5 separate regions of the Homo sapiens genome follow, and regions 2, 3, 4 and 5 are each linked to region 1. The links are contacts of gene promoters, found by promoter capture Hi-C in blood cells and fetal thymus (Javierre and others, 2016). All regions are on one chromosome and are shown on one strand. The core of a region is centred on a gene start or on the middle of the fragment in contact, and the rest is flanking DNA. Distances in the headings are between cores, read along the strand shown.

The links. Contacts are between HindIII fragments. The CHiCAGO score rates a contact against its expected background, and 5 or more counts as called.
Region 2: a fragment that was not itself captured here is called in contact with the fragment with the promoter of CCT6B in region 1 in 2 of 17 cell types (neutrophils and fetal thymus); the score reaches 5.8 in neutrophils.
Region 3: a contact is called between a fragment that was not itself captured here and the fragment with the promoter of CCT6B in region 1, in 2 of 17 cell types (neutrophils and fetal thymus). The highest score is 8.0, in neutrophils.
Region 4: a contact is called between a fragment that was not itself captured here and the fragment with the promoter of CCT6B in region 1, in 2 of 17 cell types (megakaryocytes and erythroblasts). The highest score is 6.3, in megakaryocytes.
Region 5: a contact is called between a fragment that was not itself captured here and the fragment with the promoter of CCT6B in region 1, in 4 of 17 cell types (M0 macrophages, endothelial precursors, M2 macrophages and 1 more). The highest score is 7.5, in M0 macrophages.

What each region holds. Positions count from the first base shown.
Region 1 is chr17:34,960,070-34,962,800 of GRCh38, forward strand. CCT6B (chaperonin containing TCP1 subunit 6B) reads right to left here and starts at 1,391. Exons shown (of 14, transcript NM_006584.4): 1 at 1,188-1,391. The coding sequence starts at 1,324. ZNF830 (zinc finger protein 830) reads left to right here and starts at 1,471. Exons shown (of 1, transcript NM_052857.4): 1 at 1,471-2,731. The coding sequence starts at 1,498. The coding sequence ends at 2,616. RefSeq lists a silencer at 921-1,215 and enhancers at 935-984, 1,085-1,304, 1,355-1,434, 1,515-1,764. The HindIII fragment of the contact is 8,368 bases long and covers 1-2,731 here.
Region 2 is chr17:35,591,386-35,594,116 of GRCh38, forward strand. It overlaps AP2B1 (adaptor related protein complex 2 subunit beta 1), which reads left to right. Exons shown (of 22, transcript NM_001030006.2): 2 at 2,623-2,682. The coding sequence starts at 2,646. Among named protein-coding and RNA genes, the nearest start is that of AP2B1, 5.4 kb to the left of the region's middle. The HindIII fragment of the contact is 1,879 bases long and covers 464-2,342 here.
Region 3 is chr17:35,544,882-35,547,612 of GRCh38, forward strand. It overlaps SLFN14 (schlafen family member 14), which reads right to left. Exons shown (of 6, transcript NM_001129820.2): 6 at 1-2,731. Among named protein-coding and RNA genes, the nearest start is that of SLFN12L, 8.6 kb to the left of the region's middle. The HindIII fragment of the contact is 2,726 bases long and covers 57-2,731 here.
Region 4 is chr17:34,411,330-34,414,060 of GRCh38, forward strand. LOC124903986 (a long non-coding RNA gene) reads left to right here. Exons shown (of 2, transcript XR_007065722.1): 2 at 806-1,291. Among named protein-coding and RNA genes, the nearest start is that of CCL1, 49 kb to the left of the region's middle. The HindIII fragment of the contact is 3,355 bases long and covers 1-2,731 here.
Region 5 is chr17:34,430,973-34,433,703 of GRCh38, forward strand. No RefSeq gene overlaps it. Among named protein-coding and RNA genes, the nearest start is that of CCL1, 69 kb to the left of the region's middle. The HindIII fragment of the contact is 3,958 bases long and covers 1-2,731 here.

The DNA of each region.
Region 1 (2,731 bases), core at 141-2,640:
TTGAATCTGCCACCTTCTCTCCATCTCCACTGTTATCATCTCTACTTTGGATGGCATCCGGATATCTCCAAACTTAAATATACCCTCCACACATTTTTCTTTCTAAAAGGCAACGTGATTCAGTCAGTTCCCTGATCAAAAGTCCTCCAATGATTTTTATGTTTTCCATCATTTTCAAGTTAAAATCCAAACACAGCAATGACATACTTGACCTTTCCCAATATCTTCCCTGCCTCATCTACTTTTCCACAAGCAAATCTTCTGGTTCCCTTAATATACCATGTTTTGTTTCGTTTCTGTTGGATTTGCACCATTGGTCTTTCTTATTCCTGAAATTACTTTGCCCAGGCCTTTACTCCCTCTTCCAACTAGTGAAGTCTTATTCTTCTTTCAAGACTGATCAAACATGTTACTTAAGATGCTTTTCCTTCTGCCATCAGTCCCTTTCTTCAGCATAATTATATGCATCTATATATAATTAGCACATCCTACTCTACCACATCCGTCTCTACCACATCTCCTTAAGAACAGAAACCGTTATCTTGATCATTTCTGTGTCCCAACAACTGGTACCTAAGTGACTTATTTTACCATTAATATTATTTTGTTCATTACTATGAGGATGTGTCTCTCCTCTTATACCCTTTTGCCCTCACTGGTCTCTTTTCCTCACTCTTGTCTATAGAAAAGGGTGCTTAATATATACTGAAAAGATGAATAGATCTGAACAACCATAGACACGGGGTATTCAAGTAGAACTTGGATTTGACCCCATGCCTTCCTGGCTCCAAAGCCTGTGTCCTCTCCACTACAATACATTGCCATACAAAAAACAAAACTACTTGTTGAATTTATGGACCAAGGGTATACAGTCTTAAGGAGCAGAGGAGTTAAATGCTTTGTTTCCAATGAGACACTAAATTAACTGACTTTCTAACTGCATATGAACCTTGACGACAAGTCGGGGGTCGGGGAAGCGCCACAGCTTCACTCCCGGGGCCCTCTACTAGGGGAGGCTTTTCTCCTCCACCTGCACCAGGCGAGAAATACCCCCAGAGCAGGGATGAGAATGAGGGAAATCAAGCTCGCAAGAACATCCACAGCGCTACGCGGACGCCTGCCTCAGAGGGCGACAGGACACCAACGGGCCCCTAGCCGCGTAATGGCCGCTCCAACCGCTGTCTCACATTTTCATGGTGCCTTTAGGACCCAAGTTGGTCCGCAGCACATCCTGCAGCCCTCGGGCGGCGCATATATTGACAGCCAAAGCTGCCCGGGCCCGCGCCACCTCAGCCTTGGAGTTGACGGCCTTTATCGCAGCCATAGCCTAACCGTTCAGAGGGAGAAAAAAAAAAAGCCTTAGTCGCGATTCTGAGCAAAAACGGCAATGCGACGCCACGCTCTCTTGAGCCTCGGCCAATCATCGCCCTTACAGGAAGTGACGTTATCATGCCTCGCCCGACGGAAACCAGAATCGTTTTGGGTCTGGTCGCCAAGATGGCGTCCTCCGCCTCCGCCCGGACTCCGGCAGGGAAGCGAGTGATAAATCAGGAAGAATTGCGGCGGTTAATGAAGGAGAAGCAGCGTCTGAGCACCAGTCGGAAACGGATAGAATCTCCATTCGCGAAGTACAACCGTTTGGGGCAGCTGAGTTGTGCCCTGTGTAACACTCCGGTTAAGAGCGAGCTCCTGTGGCAGACTCACGTCCTGGGAAAGCAGCACCGAGAGAAAGTGGCCGAGCTGAAAGGCGCGAAGGAAGCCAGCCAGGGTTCGTCCGCCAGTTCAGCGCCTCATTCCGTCAAGAGGAAAGCGCCGGACGCAGACGACCAAGATGTCAAGAGAGCGAAGGCCACCTTGGTGCCTCAGGTACAGCCCTCCACATCTGCGTGGACCACCAACTTTGACAAAATAGGAAAGGAGTTCATTAGAGCGACTCCCAGTAAGCCTTCAGGACTCAGTTTACTCCCCGATTATGAAGATGAGGAGGAGGAGGAAGAGGAGGAGGAAGGAGATGGAGAAAGAAAAAGGGGGGACGCCAGCAAGCCGCTCTCCGACGCACAGGGCAAGGAGCACTCAGTTTCCTCTTCACGGGAGGTAACAAGTAGTGTGCTGCCAAACGATTTCTTTAGTACTAATCCTCCCAAGGCCCCCATAATTCCTCATTCAGGGTCAATTGAGAAAGCAGAAATACATGAAAAAGTGGTGGAAAGGAGAGAAAACACCGCGGAAGCGTTACCGGAAGGTTTTTTTGACGACCCTGAGGTAGATGCAAGAGTACGAAAGGTTGATGCTCCAAAAGATCAGATGGACAAAGAGTGGGACGAATTCCAAAAAGCCATGAGGCAGGTCAACACTATTTCCGAAGCCATAGTTGCCGAAGAGGATGAGGAGGGACGGTTGGACCGCCAGATTGGGGAGATCGATGAGCAGATAGAGTGTTACCGACGGGTGGAAAAGCTACGGAATCGCCAGGATGAAATAAAAAATAAACTTAAAGAAATCCTGACCATAAAAGAACTGCAGAAAAAGGAAGAAGAGAATGCTGACAGCGATGATGAGGGGGAACTACAGGATTTGTTGTCTCAGGATTGGAGGGTGAAAGGGGCATTGTTATAGGGTTTTAAAGACCCAAGGTTTCTAACAGCCTCTGCTGTTGTATAAAAAGTGCTGTCTCTCAGTAGTATAGCGGTTACTTCATGCCTCAAGATTTGGGTACCTGGATTGCTAAACT
Region 2 (2,731 bases), core at 153-2,652, 630 kb after region 1:
TGGTCTCGATCTCCTGAGCTCAAGCCATCCGCACGCCTCGTCCTCCCAAAGTGTTGGGATTACAGGCGTGAGCCACCGTGCCTGGCCAAAAAAAATTTAATATGTGTATGTATAAGAGGCTTTTCAGAGAAATTGGGTGACAAATTCTAAGGAGGTTTTGTTTTAAAATCTTAAACAAGTTTTAAAGGACATAGCATAGCATAGTAAATATCCTAGACAGATTGTAATGGATTTGAGCTATAGTCCTTCTTTGAGGCTCAAGTAATCGTTTCTGTTTACTGGTTTTTCTGTTTGTATATATACATTCATAAATAACTTCAGATTTATTCCAGGTCTTTTATGTGAAGAATTCCTTTCTTCATTTGCCCACTTCACATTTAGTTTACATTATGAATGGACTAAATGATTATAACATTCTTTGAATTTTTGCTAGAAACACATTGTAAAAACATTGCATAAGGCAAGCTTCAGTATAATTTTTAATTATAACAAGTATTAAAGGAGAAATTTCTATATTCTGTAATGATATTTGTGAGTCCTAGCTCACTTCTTTTAACAAGATCATTCTGTGAATTTCTGGTACAATCTAAAGAGCTATTAGGATCAAGACTATAAATAGTAATTAGCTGGTTGGAAAGATAGCAAATGAGTCTAATTTCCATTAAACTGTACAAGTAGCACGTTTTAGAGATCAGATTTGAACCAGAAGTTTTTCATTATTTTATGTTTATCTGGCTCTTTTTTCTTTTCTTTAATTACATTGATTTGTTTGGTGCTTAGGTCTTTTCTCCTAGATCCATATTTACTATTGTTTGCCAAATACATTATGTCATATTGACCTGATAATAATGAGCAGGTGCCAGCATGTCTTGTCCTGAAGTTGGTGATAAGTATTATTAGTGATGGTGATAAGGAAAAAGATACTCATTTTGAGTACAGAAGGAATATTATTAAAAAATATATGTATATTTATATATTTTTTTCCCCTTGAGACAAGGTCTCTGTCGCTGAGGCTGGAGTGCAGTGGTGAGATCATAGCTCCCTGTAGCCTTGATCTCCTAAGCTCAAGCGATCCACACACCTCAGCCTCCCAAGTAGCTGAGACTACAGGTACATGCCACCATGCCTGAGCCACCGCGCCTGGCCCAAATTCCTATTTATTTATTTATTTATTTGAGATGGACTTTTGCTCTGTTGCCCAGGCTGGAGTGCAGTGGCGTGATCTCGGCTTACTGCAGCTTCCGCCTCCCAGGTCCAAGCGATTCTCCTGCCTCAGCCTCCCAAGTAGCTGGGATTAAAGGCACGTGCCACCATGCCCAGCTAAATTTTGTATTTTTAGCAGAGACAGGATTTCACCATGTTGGCGAGGCTGGTCTTGAACTCCTGACCTCAAGTGATCCACCCGGCAGCCTCACAAAGTGCTGGGATTACAGGCGTGAGCTACTGTGCCTGGCCCCAAAATTTTAATATATTTAAAGAAGTCTGGTACATTGGACAAAGTCTTATAGTTTCTCAAATCAGAAAAAGTAGTCTTATTATTTAGTAAAAATGTGACCAGACTGTGCCGTTTTTGTTAGTAGAGCCATTTGTCATCTGGATTACTTCTTCTGGAAATTGGGATGGAAGAGTTAAGGTTGAGGTTGAGATCCACGTTCTTTTGTTTCAACACCAGTTTGATTCTCGTGTCTGAACGGATGTCTCAGTCTTTTGCCTTGTTTTTAACTATAAACTGGCATTATTTGGGAATACTCTTGGGCTAAATCTGGATTGTTGGAAGTAAGAAAGCCACATTTTTTTTTAAATCCAAAAATATAGTTAGATACAATGAATAAGATCTAGTATTTGATAGCACAAAAGGGTGACTGCGGTCAACAATAATTTACTGTACATTTAAAAATAACTAAAAGAATGTAATTGAATTGTTTATAATACAAAGAAAGGATAAATGCTTGAGGTGATGGATATCCCATTTACACTAATGTAATTATTATGCATTGTCTGCCTGTTATCAAAATATCTCATGTACCTATACGCACCTACTAAATACCCACAAAACTAAAAATTAAAAAAATTCCATGCATAAGTCATGGTTGCCTCTCTAGATGTTTGTTGTGAAAGAATATTGTCCTACTAATTTTGAATTTTTTTTTTCTGAAAGAGATTCTTTTTATTGAAAGTTTCATGTCATAGATCGGCAAAATTGTTTTTTCTTTTGACCTTACACTGCTTCAGAATATATGTTTTGGAGTGATTCCAGCTTGAGGCAAGGAAGTTACCAGATTTTCCTGAATGGAAAGTAATTGCAGATATATTTATAAAAAGGTCCAGCTTTAGCTCTTGAAAGCTTTGAGGAGTTACTGTGGATAAAATCACAAAGCCATAATAGGTTCATACTTTTACCCAGTTGCATTTGGCCTTTAGATTTTTGCCCCATTAGCTTGAGGAGTTACATTCTTAGTTTTTCTTGAACCATCAACGGTGGTGATAAAGGAAGATGATACTCATTTTTAGAAATTCTTAAATATAAGTGTTCCTAAAATTAATTGGATGTTCTTAAAATTAATTGGATGCCTTGTTGGATATCTATAACCTGAATGAAGGAATTCTTTTCTCTTGCTATAGGTGCACATTAAAGATCCAAAGTCATGACTGACTCCAAGTATTTCACAACCAATAAAAAAGGTAAGTATGAGAATACAATCAAATCTTTTGAAATTTTCAAAAGTTGTAG
Region 3 (2,731 bases), core at 170-2,669, 580 kb after region 1:
TATTATATTACCCTTCTTTTTAAAAGTAAGTTTTAGAAGCTTCTCACAGTTTCTAAAGCTTCTCTTTTATCTTAGTTATTTCATTTAGTTAATTGCTTTATCCATCATATTAAGACTTTGTAGAAAACATTGAGAATTCTAAAACAACCAAGTTAGTCCATTATTCTTAGTCCCCACCAGTTCCTAATCTTACATTTGAATCTAATGAACTATCATCATAGATCCTTAATTTGACCTGTTGCCTAAAAACAATTGAGTTGCCTTTATTGTTCCCTTATTCTTCATTATTACAGTGTTAAAGATTATTCTCCACACTGACTTCTTTGAAATCTCTAACATTAGAAATTCATACTATCGAATTGAATCATTGTAGATTCTAGTTTTCTAAAAGCTACAAGTACAATTCAGCAAATATTTACTGAGCACCTGCCCTGTGTGAGGCACTGTACTAGTTGCTCTAGGGGAAATAAGGATGTGTAAGTGACTCATCCTCTTACTCTCAAGGAGCTCACAGTCTTAATAGGAAGAGAAATGTGCACACATTTTTTGAGGACAGAAAGAACAGACTAGGAGAAGGGTTCAATGGTTCTCAACCCTTGTGACATATTAGAATCATTTGGATTTTTTTTAAGAGATAGAGTCTTGCTCTGTAACCCAGGCTGGAGTGCAGTGGAGTAATCATAGGTCACTGTAGCCTCAAACTCCTGGGCTCAAGTGATCCTCCCACCTTGGCCTCTGGAGTAGCTAGGATTAAAAGCATGCACCACCATGCCCAACTAAGTTTTTAAAAAAATTTTTTTTGTAGAGATGGGGTCTTGTTATGTTGCCCAGGCTGGTCTCCAACTCCTGGCTTCAAGTGATTCCCCCAGACCTCAGCCTCTCAAAGTTCTGGTATTACAGGCACCAGCCACTGCACCCTGCCTGGACAACATTTAATAAATACCGATGCCCGAGCCTGTGTTCAGACACACTGAGGTTAATTAGTCTGGTGTCTGGCCTGATCACTGATTTTTTTTAAGTCGCCCAGGAAATTATAATGAGCATCCAGGGTTGAGAATCACTGAGTTAGTTATTCTACTTTCATCCTGATTGAATTGTTTCACTAGACTAAGAACTGACAAAGACTCTCAAATTCAATATTTAAAACAATTCTTTACAAATCAATTCTTTTATTAAAAATTATATGATGCATGCATATATTTTAAAAAGTCAAATGGTACTAAGGCTTATGACTAAAATATAGCAATTCCTTGTCCCACTCATACTCCTTCATACTCTGTTGACTTTGACTGTTTAAATTATTTTTATAGAATTCATACATCTCCCTACATCAGAATGTCAATGCACTGGCATCTTTTGCAAAACCGATTGCTGAACTTCATTTCCTCCTATCCAAAACTACCCTAAAGCCCCCAAGGAAAGGTAAAAAGGAAGAAACACCAGGTAATTAGAGCAGTAGGAAGCAAGGGAGAGGTTTTTCTTTTCAACCCGTGCCTAGGTACAGACTAGCCCTTCTAATGGGCCTAAGCAATTCAGAAAGGCAGCTAAGAGAGCTTCTCGAAACCCTGCCTGCTCTTCCACCTCTTGGAAGGCTGAGGGGCTTTATCTAAAATCATAACCAAAATTTCCACATGTCTCCTGGATTCAAGCCTCCCCAGAGTCAATCAAGTTATCCTAAACTTTTCTAGAAGTTAAAAACAGTTTGGAAATATGAATACTTCCAAAGCAATTTAAAAATCCTTGCAAAAGCAAGAGTAATTTGAAGAGTACAGAATTGGCTCAGCCATTTGGGGAACTGACTAGAAAAGGGGAACTTTGATTTCATTTCTAATATGTATCATATACATTGGAAAGTTTCACTTAGGGAGATAATAAAAGTTTAATTGAGGTAGTAGGCATTTGAAAAAGGATGTGATTGCCAAGTAAGGATTTCAAAGGTGGAGGGGACAGAAAAGGGTTTAAAGACTGAGAAAATGGCACAGGCACAGACCAGGAGTCGGGGATGTGTGTGGGTGGTGTTGGTGGTAAAGTTGCCACCAAGGATCCCCATAAACTCTGAGAGTTGGATTTAAAAATTAGCACCAAGTCATAATGGAAGAAATCAGAGATGTGCAAAGGCCCCTTGTAGGAAGACTACTTTCCAGGCCAGCGGCAGAGTATAAGGCATTTCTAGCCTACATGAATGTATTCACATACATAGAGGATAAATGTAGGCAAAATTTGTATATGTTGGGGGCAGTAAGGAGAGGGTTGGTGGTGAACCTGGAAATTTTAGAAACCAAGACAGAGAAAAAAAAATTCATCTGAGGGCAAAGAATAATGAAAAACTAGTCATCCTTAGCATTCTAAATTTGCTTTAGCTTGTAAACTGTAAACTAATTTGTCTAGTCCTTGTGATAGAAATATCTTTATTTTAGAAATTATTGCAATCTTATTTTATATTAAGTTGGTGCAAAAGTAATTGTGGCTTTTGCACTTTTGCACCAACCTAATAGATATTGCAATAGTCTAATATAATCTGAAGATTTTTAAGATTTGAATCAAATTACCAGCTTCCCTTACTGTAAGGCTATGTTCATATAATTTGGCTTCCTATATTACTGTTGAGGGCACTGATTAGCAAAAGCATTTGACCCACTTATGACTATGGTCCTCACTATAAATTAACAGAGTAACATTTTGATGTATGCATTGGTCCTTTGTGAGCTTGATTAGCATAAAGCATCCCCAA
Region 4 (2,731 bases), core at 160-2,659, 550 kb before region 1:
ATAATCAGGAGAGTGAGGTTCCTTCCTGACTAGGCTCCAGGAGGAATAGATCCACACATGTGCAAGGATCCCAGTGTGACCGGGAGGAGAAACGAAAGACAGGGTTGGGAAGAGAATGGGGATGGTGGAAGCACCAGAGGATCCCCAGCCTCACTGAGCTTGGACGCTGCACACTTTCTGCAGCAGCAGTTCATGCGGCTGTGTGATCTTCCTTTGAGAGTGCTGAGCAGCCCAGGTGTGACTGAGGCGGTGCTGGACATTTGGATAGATTCTGATCTGGGGCTTTGCTAGGAGAGCAAAACCAAAGGACAGTGAGCCAAGGGAATTGAAAATACTGGCACTGAAGTGGTGGAAAGCATGTTCTGTGAGCTCCAGACTGACTGAAGGAGCTGTGAATCTTCTATTGTCATCCTCTGCCCAACCCATCACCCTCCCACCAACATATTTACCACGGGACTTTTAGAGTACAGTCAAGATTCCCTTTTGGTTTTCTCTCTCTCTGGATATCGAAACCAATTTCCTGGGATGGGGGTGGGGGAAGGCTGGAGAAAAATGACATTACAGAGAAGGATCAGCCTTGGGACATTCCCCAGGCCAGACTCATTTGAAGAAAACTTGAGTTTTTCCCTTGTCTAAAGCTCTGAGGTCTTTGGGGAGCTTTCCAGCTCTGGTCTAATTGTAATCCCTAAGTACATATGCTATGTTCCAAAGTCAATATATAGAGTTAGTGCAATACCAATGTAAATTCTTCTGAGTCCTTTAATAGAATTTGACAGCTCTGAGTGTAGGATGCTTATTCTTCCAGGTAAAGAACCATCAAAGCATTTGTCTTTTAATGGCAGTGATAGCTGATCCCTCCTGAGTGATTAAGATGTGAATTGTCAATCACTGAAACCATCCTGTACTGAGTTAAAAACCACAAAGGTCACCAGAAGAGAGATTCCTGAGATGGATTTGAATTCTGGCAAAACCAACGTTAGGCCAGCCAAGGAGCATATTGGAGAAAGAGATTGGTATTTAATAAGCATCGCGGGGACAGTTGGCTAACAGGCCAGGGGAGAGTTAATTTAAATTCATACAGCATACCTGTCAAGTTCAGCTATATCGTACTGCTAATCTGTGACAAACCTGGAGACAAGGAACTGGCATTGTTACCCCTGCTGCTGATAAGGAGATAAATTCCTGGCTATTGAAGAAAAAGATACCATCAGGGCTCTGATAGATGGGTTCAAATATGTGAGAATAAAAATGTTTGCATTGCAATGTAATAAAAATAAATACCAAAAGGAAAGCTACGGCATCCGTTACGTCTGTCTCATTCTCCCTCCCAGGCCTGCTTACTGCCCAAAACAGATAATGGATAGGCCGTTATGTGATTCTTCCTGATAAGTGGTCAAAGGAGATGAACAAAATTAAACCAGGAAATGGAGATAGTAAATCACCACGTGGAAATAGGCGCGGTCTTGCCAGCTATAAAATACAATTTAGATCCAGGCAACTTTCAGGTCCTGTTACATGCCTACTAAAGCCACAAAAATAAGTATGATAAAACCCAGGATAGGCAGCCAGTGGAAACACATCCTTCAGCATTGCCTTTTAGAAAGACTGGACAAATTTCCATAAGCAATCAGGCAACATGAATGAGAGCCACACTGCTGTTGAGAGGCTCTGACCCGGTAATTCCTTCTTTGGTTAAAAAAAAATCCTACAGTGTTAGCTCCAAAGAAAGAAAAACACATCTATAGCAGCATTATTTCTATAATAACTATAAATTGCCAACAACACAAAGGCCAAACAAGAAGGGGCTGACCAGGCAAAGGGAAATGTGTTAACACAATAGAATAACACTGTGCTACTATACATGACTAATACGGGGGGCGTGGTAGGTTCTGGAAACAGTTTTATGAAATATGCATAGTCATCATTAGTGTGCATATCCAAGGCCTTCCTGGATATTGATAAAGAAGAGACTTTGGATGGGGCTTAATTCACTTAATGTTCATTAAGGTTTCATGATAGGCTGGATGCTAATTTTAGTCATTCATTCAACATTCATTGAGTGTTGACCACACACCAGATGCTAAGGATATTAAGATGAGAAAGAAATGCTTCCTACTGCGGAGGGCTCTGTTGTCAAATGAGAAGATAGACAGACAGACAGACACACACACACATACGCAAAATGATCAAGTGTGGGAAGAGGTATAGATAGGGTGTCATATAGAAAGGGGAGGGGGCCTAGACGTCACTACAGATCTTCATATGCAGGATTAGGATAAGTCACAGGTGGGGCAAACATGGAGGAGAACATTGTTCTAGGGAGAGGGAATGGCATTGCACAGGCTGTGACCGTATAGATCTGGGGTGTGTTTGTGTGTGTGTGTGCGTATGTGTGTGTGTGTGTGTGTGTGTGTGTTCTCCATCCCAATAGATCTGCAGTCTATAGCCTAGGATACTTCTTTCATGGGACCCAGAACCCAGTGGCTGCCTTCCCAGAACCAACTCACCCCTGACATTTCCCTTCACTACCACCCTCCCACAAACCGCTCCTCCCCCGTTCCTCTGCCACGCGCAGCCTCACTTCCTTGCTGAAATCATGCAAGGCCGTTTGCCCTGGGTAAAAATGCTCATGTTGTGCCGTATGCTGTGTGAATAGAATTATTCTGAAGGCTGGTTTAAACTGGAAAGGATTCTTGTTATTTTATATAGTTCATATCTTATTCATTGCAGA
Region 5 (2,731 bases), core at 120-2,619, 530 kb before region 1:
TCTCTCTCTCTCCCACCCTTCCCATGCCCCCCACCCCCCACCCCTCACCATGTGAGCTCACAGGTAGAAGACTGCCGTCTGCAAGCCAGGAACCAAATCAGCCAGGAACTTGACCTTGGTTCCCCAGCCTCTGGAACTGTGAGACATGAATTTCTAAGGTTTAAACCACTCAGTCTTTGGCACTTAGTGACAACAGTCTGAGCAGTTTAAGACAAAGACACATGCAGCCCCACAGGGAATGTTACACCTAGGTGGCAGCATATCTGCCTACTTTCTAATGTTCCCAGGAGAGTCCAGAATTTGACCTGTCACTTTACAACTCCTCTTCCTTTGTGGTGGAAGGAGGGAAAGGAAAAGTGGAGAGTGAGAAGCAAGGTTGCAGTTCTTTCCCCAGCAAAACTCTCTCAACAGAAAGAAGGAAATAGGGGGCTGGGCGCGGTGGCTCACGCCTGTAATCTCAGCACTTTGGGAGACCAAGGTGGGAAGATCACAAGGTCAGGAGATGGAGACCATCCTGGCTAACACGGTGAAACCCTGTCTCTACTAAAAATACAAAAAATTAGCCAGGCATGGTGGCGGGCACCTGTAGTCCCAGCTACTCGGGAGGCTGAGGCAGGAGAATGGCGTGAACCCAGGAGGCGGAGCTGGCAGTAAGCTGAGATCGCACCACTGCACTCTAGCCTGGGCTCCCATCGTATGTAACATAGCAGTGTTACTAATGTTACTAGGTCATATCCCTAACTACTATTGTTACTAGTGTTACTAGGTCATAGCCCCTACCCTGCCCAGGAGCACATGCAGCCTCTGCACCCAGGCTTCTGACCTTGCACCGTCCACCAGTAATGTAGGAAGGCCATAGCGGATGGGAGCCCCTGCACTCCTCACTCTCCATTAACACTCTTTCATGGATCCCTTTAGCATCCACCATGACTGATCTCTCTAACACATCCTCCTTACCTTGCTTTTTGAACTTGGCTCTCATCATTGACCTTCCCAGCCCTAGACATTTGGCAGCCTCTTGCCCATGATTTTGCTTTTCCCGTATCTGAGCTGTCTCAGGATACCTTGGGAATTCATCATCTTTCTCTTCCATCCTTCTACCCTTCCACTCTTTCACCAGCCATGCACTGAATATTTGTGCCCATCCGCCAACTCACCCCCTTCAACTTATGTTGAAGCCCTAATCCCTGTGTGATGGTATTTGGAGGTGGGGCCTTTGGGAGGTAATTAGGTCATGAGGGTGGAGCCCTCATGAATGGGATTAGTGCCTTGATAGGAAGAGGCCAAAGAGCTCACTCTCCTTCCACCATGTGAGGACACAGCAAGACGATGGCTGTCTATAAACAAGGATAAGGCGCTCATCAAGAACCCAGCCCTGCGGCACTCTAGCTAGGACTTCCAATCTCCAAACTGTGAAAAATAAATGTTTGGGGTTTTTTTTTTGTTTATTTGTTTGTTTATTTGTTTTTGAGACAGAGTCTCACTCTTTTTTGCCCAGGCTGGAGTGCAGTGGCATGGTCTCGGCCCACTGCAACCTCTGCCTCCTGGGTTCAAGCAATTCTGCTGCCTCAGCCTCCCAAGTAGAGTAGCTGGGATTACAGGCACCCACCACCACGCCGAGCTAATTTTGTATTTTTTTTAGTAGAGACGGGATTTTGCCATGTTGGTCAGACTGGTCTTAAGCTCCTGACCTCAGGTGATCTGGCCCGCCTTGGCATCCCAAAGTGCTGGGATTACAGGCAGGAGCCACCACACCCGGCCAAATGTTTGGTGTTTAAGCCACCCAGGATACAGAAGTTTGTTATGGCAGCCTGAGCTAAGACACCCCCCTCCTCTTCACACCCACCTCCCCTTCACACTCATCACCTAATTTGAGCCTATGGGGTTGTGTATGGAGTCTTTATAGGACTGAACATGCTTCAAACCAAGTCATCATACAGACACAGAAAAGCAAAAAGATATGATCTTGTAAAAGAAATGTCTCCTTCTCCCAAATTACCAGGTATGTGGAATATAATATATGTTACCTTATGAACATTTTTTAAAGATTATTAAATTTAAACACAGATTGAGGTATTTGAATTTCAAAGACTATCTGTACAAAGCAAACAAAAAAAAAAAGTCCCAAGATTGGGAAAGGAGTTGATATAAATGATAACTGACAAAGTACAGCCCCGTGGTTCTCAGACTAGAGGATTCTGTAGTTCAGCAATTTTTTTTTTTTGTAACAGCAAAAAAGGAGGTTGACAGATACATCATTGGTATGAATGGAGAAGGAAGAAAATAAAAGTCATAAGTGTGAATGAGATGACAGTTAACAAGCTAAGGAGTTTGTTGTGGTTTATGTATATACTTTTAAGTTCTGGGATACATGTGCAGAACATGCAGGTTTGTTACTATACATTGATGGGTGCAGCAAAATCTTTAAAGAGAAAATTGGAGGATTCACATAGCATTACCAGCTTTATGCAGTTCTAAGTGTAGATACCCGAGAAATCATCTCAAGTCTATAATCACTATCTTTTCACGGGTGACAGGATATTTTCAAACCAAGAAAGCAGGAAAGATATAACTCCAGGGAAAGGACAATCCTGTTGATAATGAATAAATTTAACTTTATGAAAGACTCACTCATGTTTTTCTCATTTCTCCACAAGCTGATGAAAACTTTGGCACGAAGCACTGGAATGCCGAAGTTAAACCCATATTAATTCCTACAAAATATGCAGTC